Regions from separate parts of the Homo sapiens genome. Here region 2 is linked to region 1. The links are contacts of gene promoters, found by promoter capture Hi-C in blood cells and fetal thymus (Javierre and others, 2016). All regions are on one chromosome and are shown on one strand. Each heading gives the region's core, a stretch centred on a gene start or on the middle of the fragment in contact. The rest is flanking DNA. Distances are from core to core; before and after follow the strand shown. Region 1 holds the start of SAG (S-antigen visual arrestin). Region 2 overlaps GIGYF2 (GRB10 interacting GYF protein 2).

What was found. Contacts are between HindIII fragments. The CHiCAGO score rates a contact against its expected background, and 5 or more counts as called.
Region 2: a contact is called between a fragment that was not itself captured here and the fragment with the promoter of SAG in region 1, in 4 of 17 cell types (total CD4 T cells, non-activated CD4 T cells, naive CD8 T cells and 1 more). The highest score is 7.0, in total CD4 T cells.

What each region holds. Positions count from the first base shown.
Region 1 is chr2:233,303,470-233,309,201 of GRCh38, reverse strand. It overlaps SAG (S-antigen visual arrestin), which reads right to left and starts at 1,386. Exons shown (of 16, transcript NM_000541.5): 1 at 1,180-1,386; 2 at 1-40. The coding sequence starts at 12. The HindIII fragment of the contact is 2,146 bases long and covers 269-2,414 here.
Region 2 is chr2:232,741,920-232,747,664 of GRCh38, reverse strand. GIGYF2 (GRB10 interacting GYF protein 2) reads right to left here. Exons shown (of 29, transcript NM_001103146.3): 4 at 1-50. Among named protein-coding and RNA genes, the nearest start is that of KCNJ13, 32 kb to the left of the region's middle. The HindIII fragment of the contact is 3,425 bases long and covers 1,273-4,697 here.

The DNA of each region.
Region 1 (5,732 bases), core at 137-2,636:
GCTGGCTGCCATGTTATCTGTCCCTGGCAACTTCTACCACCTTGGGGTGTTGGTCAGGTGTTAGAGGGTTGGAGAAAGGTAAGACAATCCTAAATATCAAGTCAAGAACATCCTAGTTATGAAACCTACTCACGAGATCCTGTGCGTCCTCACCATGCCCTTGTACCGGCTTCAACATCCGAGTTTCATCGGTGAGTCTTTGCTTAGTTTGTATTTTACTGCAGCATGCTTTGGGGTGTTTTCAATATTTTATTTTTCTTGGTAAGCTTCAAACATTTCTCAGTACACCTTGCCAGGGAGTCTAGCTAGATTCCAATGAGGTTTTACTTTCTGACTAACCTTTGGTGTTATCACACTTAGCCAGGTTGAATTTAAAGTTCTATCGTGACTGTGTCTAATGGCGAATAAATCAGAAAAGTTCCTGAAAACCACAACATAACCACTTCGCAAAGACTGTTTTCAAGAAGATATTAATGGCCGGGCACTGTGGCTCACACCTGTCATCTCAACATTCTGGGAGGCTGAAGCGAGAGGATCATTTGAAACCAGGAGTTGGAGACTGGCCTGGGCAACATAGCAAGATCCTATCACTTTTTTTAAAAAAAAAGAATATATTAAAATCCCAAAAGTTCTATTTGGCAATTCCTACTAAGAGATAGCCACTCTGTTTTACAATTAAGAGGCCATCTTAGCGGTCTAGAATTAAGCATACTCTGAGGTTTTTTTTTTTTTTAAGATATAGGAGCTCGTTCTGTTGCCCAGGCTGGAGGGCAGTGCCACAATCATAGCTCACCGCAGCCTCGAACTCCTGGGCTCGTGATCCTCCTGCCTCAGCCAGCTGAGTAGCCAGGACTACAGGTGTGTGACACCATGCCTAGCTAATTTATTTTTATTTTTGTTTTTTTGTAGAGACTGGGTCTGACTGTATTGCTCAAGTTGGTCTCGAATTCCTGGCTTCAAGTGATCCTCCAGCCTCAGCCTCCTGAGTCACTGGGACTATAGGCATGAGCCATTGCACCCGCTCACTCCAAGTCTCCTTAAATAGCAACCAAGTCTTATGGAAACCACACAGAAAAGGTGAAGGCGGGACATACTGTCTGCAGGAAAACGCCCATCCTTGCTCTTCCCCACACCTGCCCCAGGTTTCTGATAAGGTTTTGGCCTGTGGTGGTCACATACCTTGTGATTTGTCACCAACCAGGTGGGAAGGGCCGGGTGGCAAGGAGAGGGTCTCTATGCTCTGAGATGATGAATAGCCAGCCCCTGTTCTGAGCAAGCTGGTACCGTCTTGCCAGATGAGCCTGAAGGGGCACCGCTGAGGCTCCTGGCCTACGTATGTGGGGAATTTGTAGGGGATCTAGCGAGGATGCCCAGCATCCAGGTCTCAATGTCTAAAAGCCAAATCCCACTTAAGGAGCAGAGTTGGATTAGTGCTGAGACAGTGAACTGGTAGTTTCAGCAGTTCTAAGCATTAAGCAACACCCCCCGCCCCGGTCTCCATACGGAGGGTCTCACAGATGTATGAGTCACCCAGCTGACTTGGGGAAGGTTGGTGGGAGGGCCAACAGCTAAATGAAAGCTACTTTTTCTTCTAAACCTCTTTGGATTCTGGAAATAGACTGATTATCTCTTCATTCCCGGGCATTGCCAGGACAGGAAGAGATTTGATTAAACTCAGCAGGCAGCTAATGCGACCTTGCGGGTGGGGACTAAACAAAAAGGTCAAGGAGAAATGTCAACCTCAAGATGAACCTGGTGTTATGCAAGCCAAGCTGGATCTGTCCCTCTCCTCCACCCGGTCCTACTGATTGATGGCTTCAGGAGTCCTGTTGATCCCCTCAGTGTCTCTGGAACCTGTCTGCATCCTCCCATCCCCAGCACCGCCTTTGCTTCTCAGGACCGGAGTGATTCCCCACTGTCTGACTACATCTATTTCTTTTCTTTTTTTTGTTTTGTTTTTTGTTTTGAGATGGAGTCTTGCTCTGTCTCCCAGGCTGAAGTGCAGTGGTGCAGTCTCAGCTTGCTGAAACTTCTGCCTCCCAGGCTGAAGTGCAGTGGTGCAGTCTCAGCTTGCTGAAACTTCTGCCTCCCAGGTTCAAGTGATTCTCTTGCCTCAGCCTCCAGAGTAGCTGGGACTACAGGCGCCTACCACCACACTGAGCTAATTTTGTATTTTTAGTAGAGACAGGGTTTTACTATGTTGGCCAGGCTGGTCTCGAACTCCTGACCTCAGGTGATCCACCTGCCTCGGCCTCCCAAAGTGCTGGGATTCCAGGAATGAGTCACCGCACCCAGCCGACCACATTTATTTCTACCCTCCAAGCCCTTTTCCACACAGAGGCAGAGAGACCTTCTGAGCCCTGTCATCCCTCGCTTACAATCACCCATTGCTCTTAGAATGCAGGCAAAAAGCTTGCAGCCTCTGGAACCTCTGCCTGCCTTTCCTTCCACGCCGTCTGCCACGCTTCCTCCTTCCCACTATTATTTCTGCCTGGAACAAGCCTCTCCTCTCTCCACTTTGTTGACTCTTCTTGGCCTTTCAGATTTTTGACCAGGAGTCACTTCCTCAGGGGAGCTATCCCCAACCTCCAGGACCAGATTGGAGGCACGCTTGCATTTCACTCTTTTTTTTTTTTGCTTTCGAGATAGAGTCTCACTCTGTTGCCTGGGCTGGAGTGCAGTGGCGCGATCTCGGCTCACTGCAGCCTCCACCTCCTGGGTGCAAGCGATTCTCCTGTCTCAGCCTCCCGAGTAGCTGGGATTACAGTTGTGCACCAGCATGCCCAGCTAATTTTTGTATTTTTAATAGAGATGGGGTTTCGTCATGTTGGCCAGGTTGGTGTCAAACTCCTGGCCTCCTGAAGTGCTGGGATTATAGGCATGAGCTACCGTGCCTGGCCACATTTCACTCTTGCTTGGGAATTATTCTACAGTCTCTCTTCCCTCACTGGAGTCCAGGCTCCATGAGGGCAGGGCCTAGGCCATTTTGTTTCCTTCACTTTTGTCTTCACAGTGCCCAGAACAATGCCTGCTCCCAAGAACACTCAGGGAATGGATGGAGGGGACTCTGCGACCACTAACACACTTACATGGGGGACTGACTTGGGAATGAAACAAGTATATGCAGAAAGCCTGTTCTGACGTTTGGGGTATCAGCATCCACCCAAACATTCCAATGGCTTCCCATTTAAGTCTGGACAATGCTTGCCAGGTCCGGCATGCTCTGGCCCCCCTTTACCTCTGACTTTATTTCTCACCACCCTCTCCCTTGCCCACTTCACTCCAGAGTACTGAGCCTGTTTTCTTTTCTTTTAGAGACAGGGTCTCGCTCTGTCACCCAGGCTGGAGTGCAGTGGTGCAATCATAGCTCACTGCAGCTTTGAACTCCTGGGCTCAAGCGCTCCTCCCACTTAAGCCTCCCGAGTAGCTAGGACTACAGGCACATGCCACCACACCCAGCTAATTCTTTAACCTTTTTGTAGAGATGGGGTCTTGCTATGTTGCTCAGGCTGGTCTCGAACTCCCAACCTCAACTGATCCTCTCACCTCAACCTTCTAAAGTGTTGGGGTTACAGACGTGAGCCACCACCACTGGCCTGCTTTTCTTTAAACCTCCGTCTAGGCCTTTCCACTTGCTATTTCCTCTCCTGGAACAGTCTTCCCACAGCCAGCCACATGGCTCACTCCTTCAATGGCTTTGAGTCTTTACTTCAATGTCACCCTATCCTTAGCATACTCTATGGTTGGCCTCACCATACCTGAACTGCAAACCCCCTATTTTAAAACACAAAGATTATTCATTGGTGCTAAAACCATTAGGTGAAGAGTTGCTGGGAAAATGACTGTAGGAGTGAAGTGATGCCACACGGATCATGGTGTCATCACAAGGTGCACGGCAGATGCCATGGTCAATCTTAGCATTGCTGGTGGTGTCAGCCACATGGGATGTGTCCCCTTGGGTTAACTTGAATCCATGAGCCTTCAGACATCATTTCTAGTTTATCGGAAATACAAGGAACGAGCTACGTGACGCAAGTGAGCAGCCAGACAAATCCAACAAACAATGCCATAGAAATGGGTAGGCCAGGTGCAGTGGCTCACGCCTGTAATCCCAGCACTTTGGGAGGCCGAAGCGGACGGATCACAAGGTCAGGAGTTCGAGACCAGCCTGGCCAACATAGTGAAACTCCGTCTCTACTAAAAATACAAAAATTAGCCAGGCGTGGTGGTGGGCGCCTGTAGTTCCAGCTACTCGGGAGGCTGAGGCAGAAGAACTGCTTGAACCCGGGAGGGGAGGTTGCAGTGAGTCAAGATCGTGCCACTGCACTCCAGCCTGGGTGACAGAGCGAGACTCTGTCTCAAAAAAAAAAAAAAAAGAAAAAAGACATGGGGTTTACTAGATTAAAAGACGCTAAGACACTCGAGACCCAGATGTCATGTGCAGCCCCAGACTGAATACACAACTGGTCAAAAAGGATGTGTAGGACATTTTGGGTTCATTGGGAAAATCTGACTATGGTAAAATGCCTGGAGTAGAAAGGTGAGAGATTGTGACAGAACCAACAAGACTGCAGAATGGTGTGCTTAGCATGTCCACGTTTTGCAAACACACAGAGACTATGTATTTGTGTATACATACATATATGTACATTTACACACACATGCATATACACACAAGCATATTTACACACATACATGCAGGTTCATATGCATGCTATACCTATGCATACTTTGCAAGAATACACCTTAAGCTAACATTGGTAGTTAAAGGTCTCTCATTACCTTGTAATGAAATGGTAGGCTTTGTTTCAATTTTCTTGTCTATAATTTTTCACATTTTCTCCTATGACCATTTACTGCTCCTATAATAGAAAGGTTAAAATACAAAACTGTGTTATATAAGTGAGGTGTGGTGGCTCACGCCTGTAATCCCAGCACTCTGGAAGGCTGAGGCTGGAGGACGGCTTGAGCCTGGGAGGTTGAGGCTGGAGTGAGCCATGATCACACCACTGTATTCCAGCCTGGGCAACAGAGCGAGTCCTTGTCTCAAAAACAAACAACAAAAAAACAAACAAACAAAAAACAATAAATAGGGCCAGGCACAGTGGCACACACCTGTAATCTGAGCACTCTGAGAGGCAGAGGCAGGTGGATCACTTGAGCACAGGAGTTTGAGAACAGCCTGGGCAACATAGTGAGACCCTATCTCTATAAAAAGTAAACAAAATTAGCCAGGCCTGGTGGTGTGTGCCTGTGGTCCCAGCTACTTGGCTTATGCCAGAGGATTGTTTGGGCCTGGGATGTTGAGGTTATAGTGAACCGTGAGCATGTCACTGTATTCCAGCGTGGGCAAAAAAAAAATTGCTGTGGCCGGGCACGGTGGCTTACACCTGTAATCCCAGCACTCTGGGAGGCCGAGGTGGGCGGATCACCTGAAGGTCAGGAGCTTGAGGCCAGGCCAACATGGTGAAACCCTGTCTCTACTAAAAATACAAAAAAAAAAAAAAAAAAAAGCTGGGCATGGTGATGTGTGTAATCCCAGCTACTTGGAAGGTTGAGGCAGAAGAATCACTTGAACCCAGGAGATGGAGGTTGAAGTGAGCCAAGATTGTGCCACTGCACTCCAGCCTAGGCAACAGAACCAGACTCCAACTCAAAAAAAAAAAAACAAAGGGGAAAAAATGACTAGGGTGCTTCTTTCAGTGTCCCCATCAGAGGGCTGCCCTGAGCTG
Region 2 (5,745 bases), core at 1,736-4,235, 560 kb after region 1:
GAGAAAGAGGAGGGGATGTAATACTCCCACCACTGGACAGAGCTCGGAGCCTAGAATAGAAAAGACAGAGAATATGTCAAACATTCTGGTGCTACAGACTTTTTATACTATACACTGTCAAAAAAAATTCATTTTAGTTCTTTAGAAGAGCAAAAAGAAATCCTACTATCTCAAAGTATCAGACTTTAGCTTTAATACAATCTTTTGTCATGGCACGCTAAAAGGGCAGTTTATTGAGAGATAACTAGACAACCATGTGGCAATTCCTTAACTTAAAAGGCATCACGGCTATGTCCCCCAGAAGCTTAGAGAATGAAAAAGGGACACATTTTTCCAAATTTTAAAAGGCGCATATGATTAAAACAAAAGTGAGATACTACCTTACACTCACTAGATTCATAAAACTTAATAAGTCTGATAATACCAGGTGTTGGTAAGGATGTAAAACAATGGAAACTTTCAAGTAGTGTTTGTGGTATTATAAACTGAAATAATCACTTCAAAGAATGATTTGATAATAGCTAATTATTTAATTATCTATTTGGCAATTTGGTAATAGCTAAAATATTTAATAAAGTATGCTATACAAAAGAAAAATCAAAACACAGCCTATAGTAATGATAATTTTTATATAAAATGCATAAACCTGCAGCTAGGTTTATACTGTTTCAAGACATACAAACTGCAGCAAAAGCATAGAAACAAACATGAAATTGACAAATACAACATTTAGAATAAGGTTATATCTGCAAAAGATTAAGATTATAAAGGCAGCTTTAATTGTACCTACAATGTTTTATTTTTGTAGCTTGCCAATGAATACATGGGTGTTTATCACAATTTATATTTTTATATGCCTGAAATATTTCACAACGTTTTTAATAAAAGCAATTAATGGTCAGTGTAGAGAATCTGAAAATGCAGTAAAGTACAAAGAGAAATTGAAAACTACATGTACTGCTAAGAAGACAAATAAAAAATATACTCCAAACTGATAAGAAAAGTTGCCTCTAAAGAACAGAACTTGGGGAAAAGGGACTATTTTGTTTAATTTTAAAATAATATATTTTTATGGGGAAAAAGGGAAGAAAACTTCAGCAAAAAATGGCGAGTAAGATTCTACTGTAGCACTGTGTCAGACAGCAAGTGGAAAAACTAACATCAGGAGTAGCTGATATCAAGCATGAAAGGGACCAAGCTACTTTAATTCTAGTTTAGACTAAGGAAAAATTCAATAGAAGCATTGAAATATGTGCCCAAAACTGCTAAGCTTTATTCACAAAGCAAAAAAGAAGGGAATAATCTACTAAATTATGACACATTAAATATTAATATGAAGGCCAAGTAAAACACAGTAAATATGTGCACATTATTAAAAATAGCGTATGCATAGTAAACAGTAAAATGTGTTTACAAGAATAAAGTAATATTTAAAGAAAAAATATGCATTAGTAAAGTGAGACTGTTGGGGTGGGATTTTTTTTTTTTACTTATTGTGGAAAATTTTTTGTATTTTCATAAATGCACCAAAAAGCAGATGACAAACTCCCGTGTAATTTTTGTATTTTCTGTAGAGACAGGGTCTCACTATATTGCCCAACCTAGTCTCAAACTCTGGGCCTCAAGCAATCCTCCCACCTTGGCCTCTCGAAGTGCTGAGATTACAGGCATGAGCCACCATGCCTGACCCAAAACATTTTTTTAAAGTCTGGGTTTTGCTGATTTTATCCATGATATAATTAAACATTTTTCTGTCTTTTGCATTTCATGTAAACTGGTGACTGAGTATAGAGATTTTGAGATTTTCATCAATTTGGGTTCTTTTTTGGCAATACTTCGTATGTAGTGGTATGTTATTCCATCAAGAGGCACACATTGTGATGACGTGTTTGTGATACTTGCAGTAATTTATGATCAATGCTTGGTTCCCTAAGTTCACTAAGGTTGTAAGTGATTATATTCTTTCATTCCTCCCTTATGTATTAGCTGGAATACTTCTGCAAAGATAAATTTTCCTCTTATACTACCTGGTATAGTTACCAAATAATACTGCTTAATACAAGAAAGGAGGGAAAAAGCCTTAATTCTTATTTGTTTTCAAAATAACGACTAGGTTCACTTGCACCTTCCAACAGTGTCCAACAGTAACACATTATTTTATTAATATATTTCAATTCACAGCAATTATTAACAGTGTTCAAACTGTCTCATCTTTGAAGAGTGGGAGACTCTTCAGGTTGGCTCCTGGGTCCTTTTGACATGACCCTAGCAGTCTTCAACAGCTTCTTTTCTATCTGGTATGTCAGAATGTTCCAGGTTCATCTTGTATTTTTCTTGCCTCAGACCTGAAATCAATCATTTCCAGGGAGCCCTGGATTCACTTTCATTTATAGAAATACCACAACCTGGGTTCTGGGACTGCTCACTGCTACTCTGTTTCCTTTGCAAATATTCTTGGGCTTGGAGGTCATTTAGTTCAACCCCCATAAAACAAGTTAAACAACCAGGTAAGCAAACAACATACCCACAAAGGAATGGTCCAATCACTCCTTCCAAGAAGAAAGGAACTACCCCAGTACCTTCCAAGAAACTGCTTTTTATTAGATTCCTGTAAAGTTGGGCTCTTTACTGAAGAAGTGGAATTAATATCCACTGAACACTGAAGCTGAAAATTTCACACGTGAACTAGCTCATTTAATCTAATTTAACCTTCACAACAACCCAAACATAACAGATAAAAATAAAGCTGAAGGGTTAAACAACTTGTCCACAGTCACGGGCAGCAGAACAAAGATTCAAACCTAGGTTTTTATTACTAAAAAGACCACAATTGACCGGTTGCAGGTTAGCTCACACTTGTAATCCCAACACTTGGGAAGCTAAGGAGTGTGGATCACTTCAGTACAAGAGTTCAAGACCAGCCTGGGCAACACGATGAAACCCCATCTTGACAAAAAATACAAAAATTAGCCAGGTATGGTGGCTCATGCCTCTGGTCCCAGCTACTCAGGAGGCTGAGGTGGGAGGACTGCTCGAGCCTGGGAGGTCAAGGCTGCAGTGAACAGCCACTGCACTCCAGCCTAGGTGACAAAGCAAGACCCTGTCTCAAAAAAAAAAAGAAAGAAAGAAAGAAAGAAAAAAAAACACAATCTTTCCAACAATTAGGTCTCAAAATCCTATTTAAAATAGCCAGTTTAAAATATACATATATTTTATTAGAACTTGTTTTAAAATATCTTCCTTAACACCAAACCAACATGTTTCCCAACAGTTTCTACCACTGGAGTACACATCTAAGCACTCTTTCAAATGAAAATCATTCTGGTATTGGCAAATAATCACCATGTCTCCCCAAAGACTCCTTCTCATGGCCTAACATTCCTAATTTCTTCAATTGCTGCTCACAATAAGATTTCAAATGTATTCACCACCCTGTCCCTTCCAATGGATCACCAATGGTTTTCCAATGCCCAAGACTAAACATTTCTTATAGTCACCAGATTTATTAAGAGTAACACAGGCCAGGTGCAGTAGCCCATGCTTGTAATCCCAGCACTTTGGGAGGTTGAGGCAGGTGGATCACTTGAGACCAGGAGTTTGAGACCAGTCCAGGCAACACAGTGAGATCCTGTCTCTCCAAAAATAAAAAAAATTAGCAGAGCATGGTGGTGCACGCCTGTAGTCCCAGCTATTTGGAAGGCTGAGGTGGGAAGATCGCTTGAGCCTCAGGAGGTAGAGGCTGCAGTGAGCCATGATCGCAACACTGCATTCCACCTTGGCTGAGAGTGAGACTCTGTCTCCAAAAAATAAAAAATACAAAAATAACACAATAACACAATCAGAGATTTCCTTCAGGTGCTATGAAAAGAAACTGAGGCAAACTGGCAGTAACTCAAACTAAAAGACAGTTGCCTGAGTTAGGATAATGGCTGTACTATGATTCAATAATCGACAAATTCAATTCCAAGTCCCTCTTCACCTGCAGATACTTAGAAAAGCTAAAACATATTTGGGTAATATTCTTCACTAAAAATCCACCTGAGAACTCATGAACACAAAGAAGGGAATGATAGACACTGGGGTCTACTTGGGGGTGGAAGGCAGGAGGAGGGAGAGGAGCACGAAAAACCACTGGGTACTCGGTGTAACACTTGGGTGATGAAATAATCTGTACAACAAACCCCCATTGACACAAGTTTACCTACATAACCTTCACATGTACCCCCGAACCTAAAAGTTAAAAAAATCCACATATGATCTTTATCTCCTCCATACAACCCTCTCTTCTAGAAATTTAATCCCTATGTGCTTTCGTCTGTCTCTAAACATATCTCCTCATTTGTTTAAAACTTTTGATACAGCCATTTCCCTTCTAGCTATGCACTGTTCATCTTTCCTCTTCATCTAGAAACATCTCTACTTCCTCGCTTCTCAGTCACTTCAAAACGCAGTGTGCCTGGTTTCTCCTGCCACTCCACTAGCTCCTGCACTGTTCATCAATAACCTCAACACTGCCAATTCTACCATGGGTAGTAAATAAGTGGCAGCAGCAGGCCCCCCAAAGCCCCATGATACTCCCAAAATCTTCGCTTGGTAAGTGTTGTCCAAAATCCAAACTTCAGCTTATGAAAGCAATTTGGATAGTCAATAAACAATGTGTGAAGGTGTGGGAGTCAAAAGGCACTTCTATGTAAGCTTGTGATTCTCAAGTCCAGCTGTGACCTCTCCTATAGTCAGGCTTTCATACACAACCATGTAAAGCCCATCAGGTTCAATATGCCCAAAACCCTAACCCTACTCATCAACTTATTCATCCAACCCATTCACTGCCCATATTCTCAAACATAGTTAAGGACATCCCAATCTAATCAGCCACTGGATTAAAAATCTGGGATTCATACTTTACTCCTCACCTTCTACCATCTCTCATACCCAATTACCATGTCCTATTAGTTTTAAATCCTCAGTCTCTCAAGTCTTCCCCTGATCCAACTAACCTAATTTTTATTCACACTTTTATTTCCCACCTGGACTGCTGCAAATGCATCCTGAACGATTTTACTAGTCTTAATCTCCTACGTTACTAAGAACTATTTATTTATTTATTTATTTTTGAGACAGAGGCTCACTCTGTTACCCAGGCTGGAGTGCAGTGGCACTATCTCAGCTCAGCTCAGCTCACTGCAACCTCCACCTCCCAGGTTTAAGCAGTTCTCCTGCCTCAGCCTCCTGCGTAGTTGGGATTACAGGCACACGCCACCACACCTGGCTAATTTTTGTATTTTTAGTAGAGATGGGGTTTCCCCATATTTGTCAGGCTGGTCTTGAACTCCTGACCTCAGGTGATCCACCCGCCTCAGTCTCCCAAAGTGTTGGGATTATAGGGGTGAGCCACTGCGCCCAGCCCCAATTCTTTTTTCACTGGCACACAATGACCAATAAAACCCAAGCCTTGTTAACAGAAGGGCTGCCTCCAAGCTCTTATCTCCCACACTTCACATAATAAAGGTAAACATTATGCATCATGAAGTTCCTCTCTTAAATCAGTTCCTTGCCTTATGTTCACACACGTCCTTTCTGCTATCAGGAATATTCTTCCTAATCTTTTTCACCAACAGGGTAGAGAGAGGTGCTAGGAAGGAGATGTTAAGTGGGAAGGAGAAAGGAAGAATAAGGAGAGCTGGAAAGAGAGTCGGAGGAAGGGAGGGAAAAAGAGAATTTGAGATCCTCAAGGCCTTGCTAAAC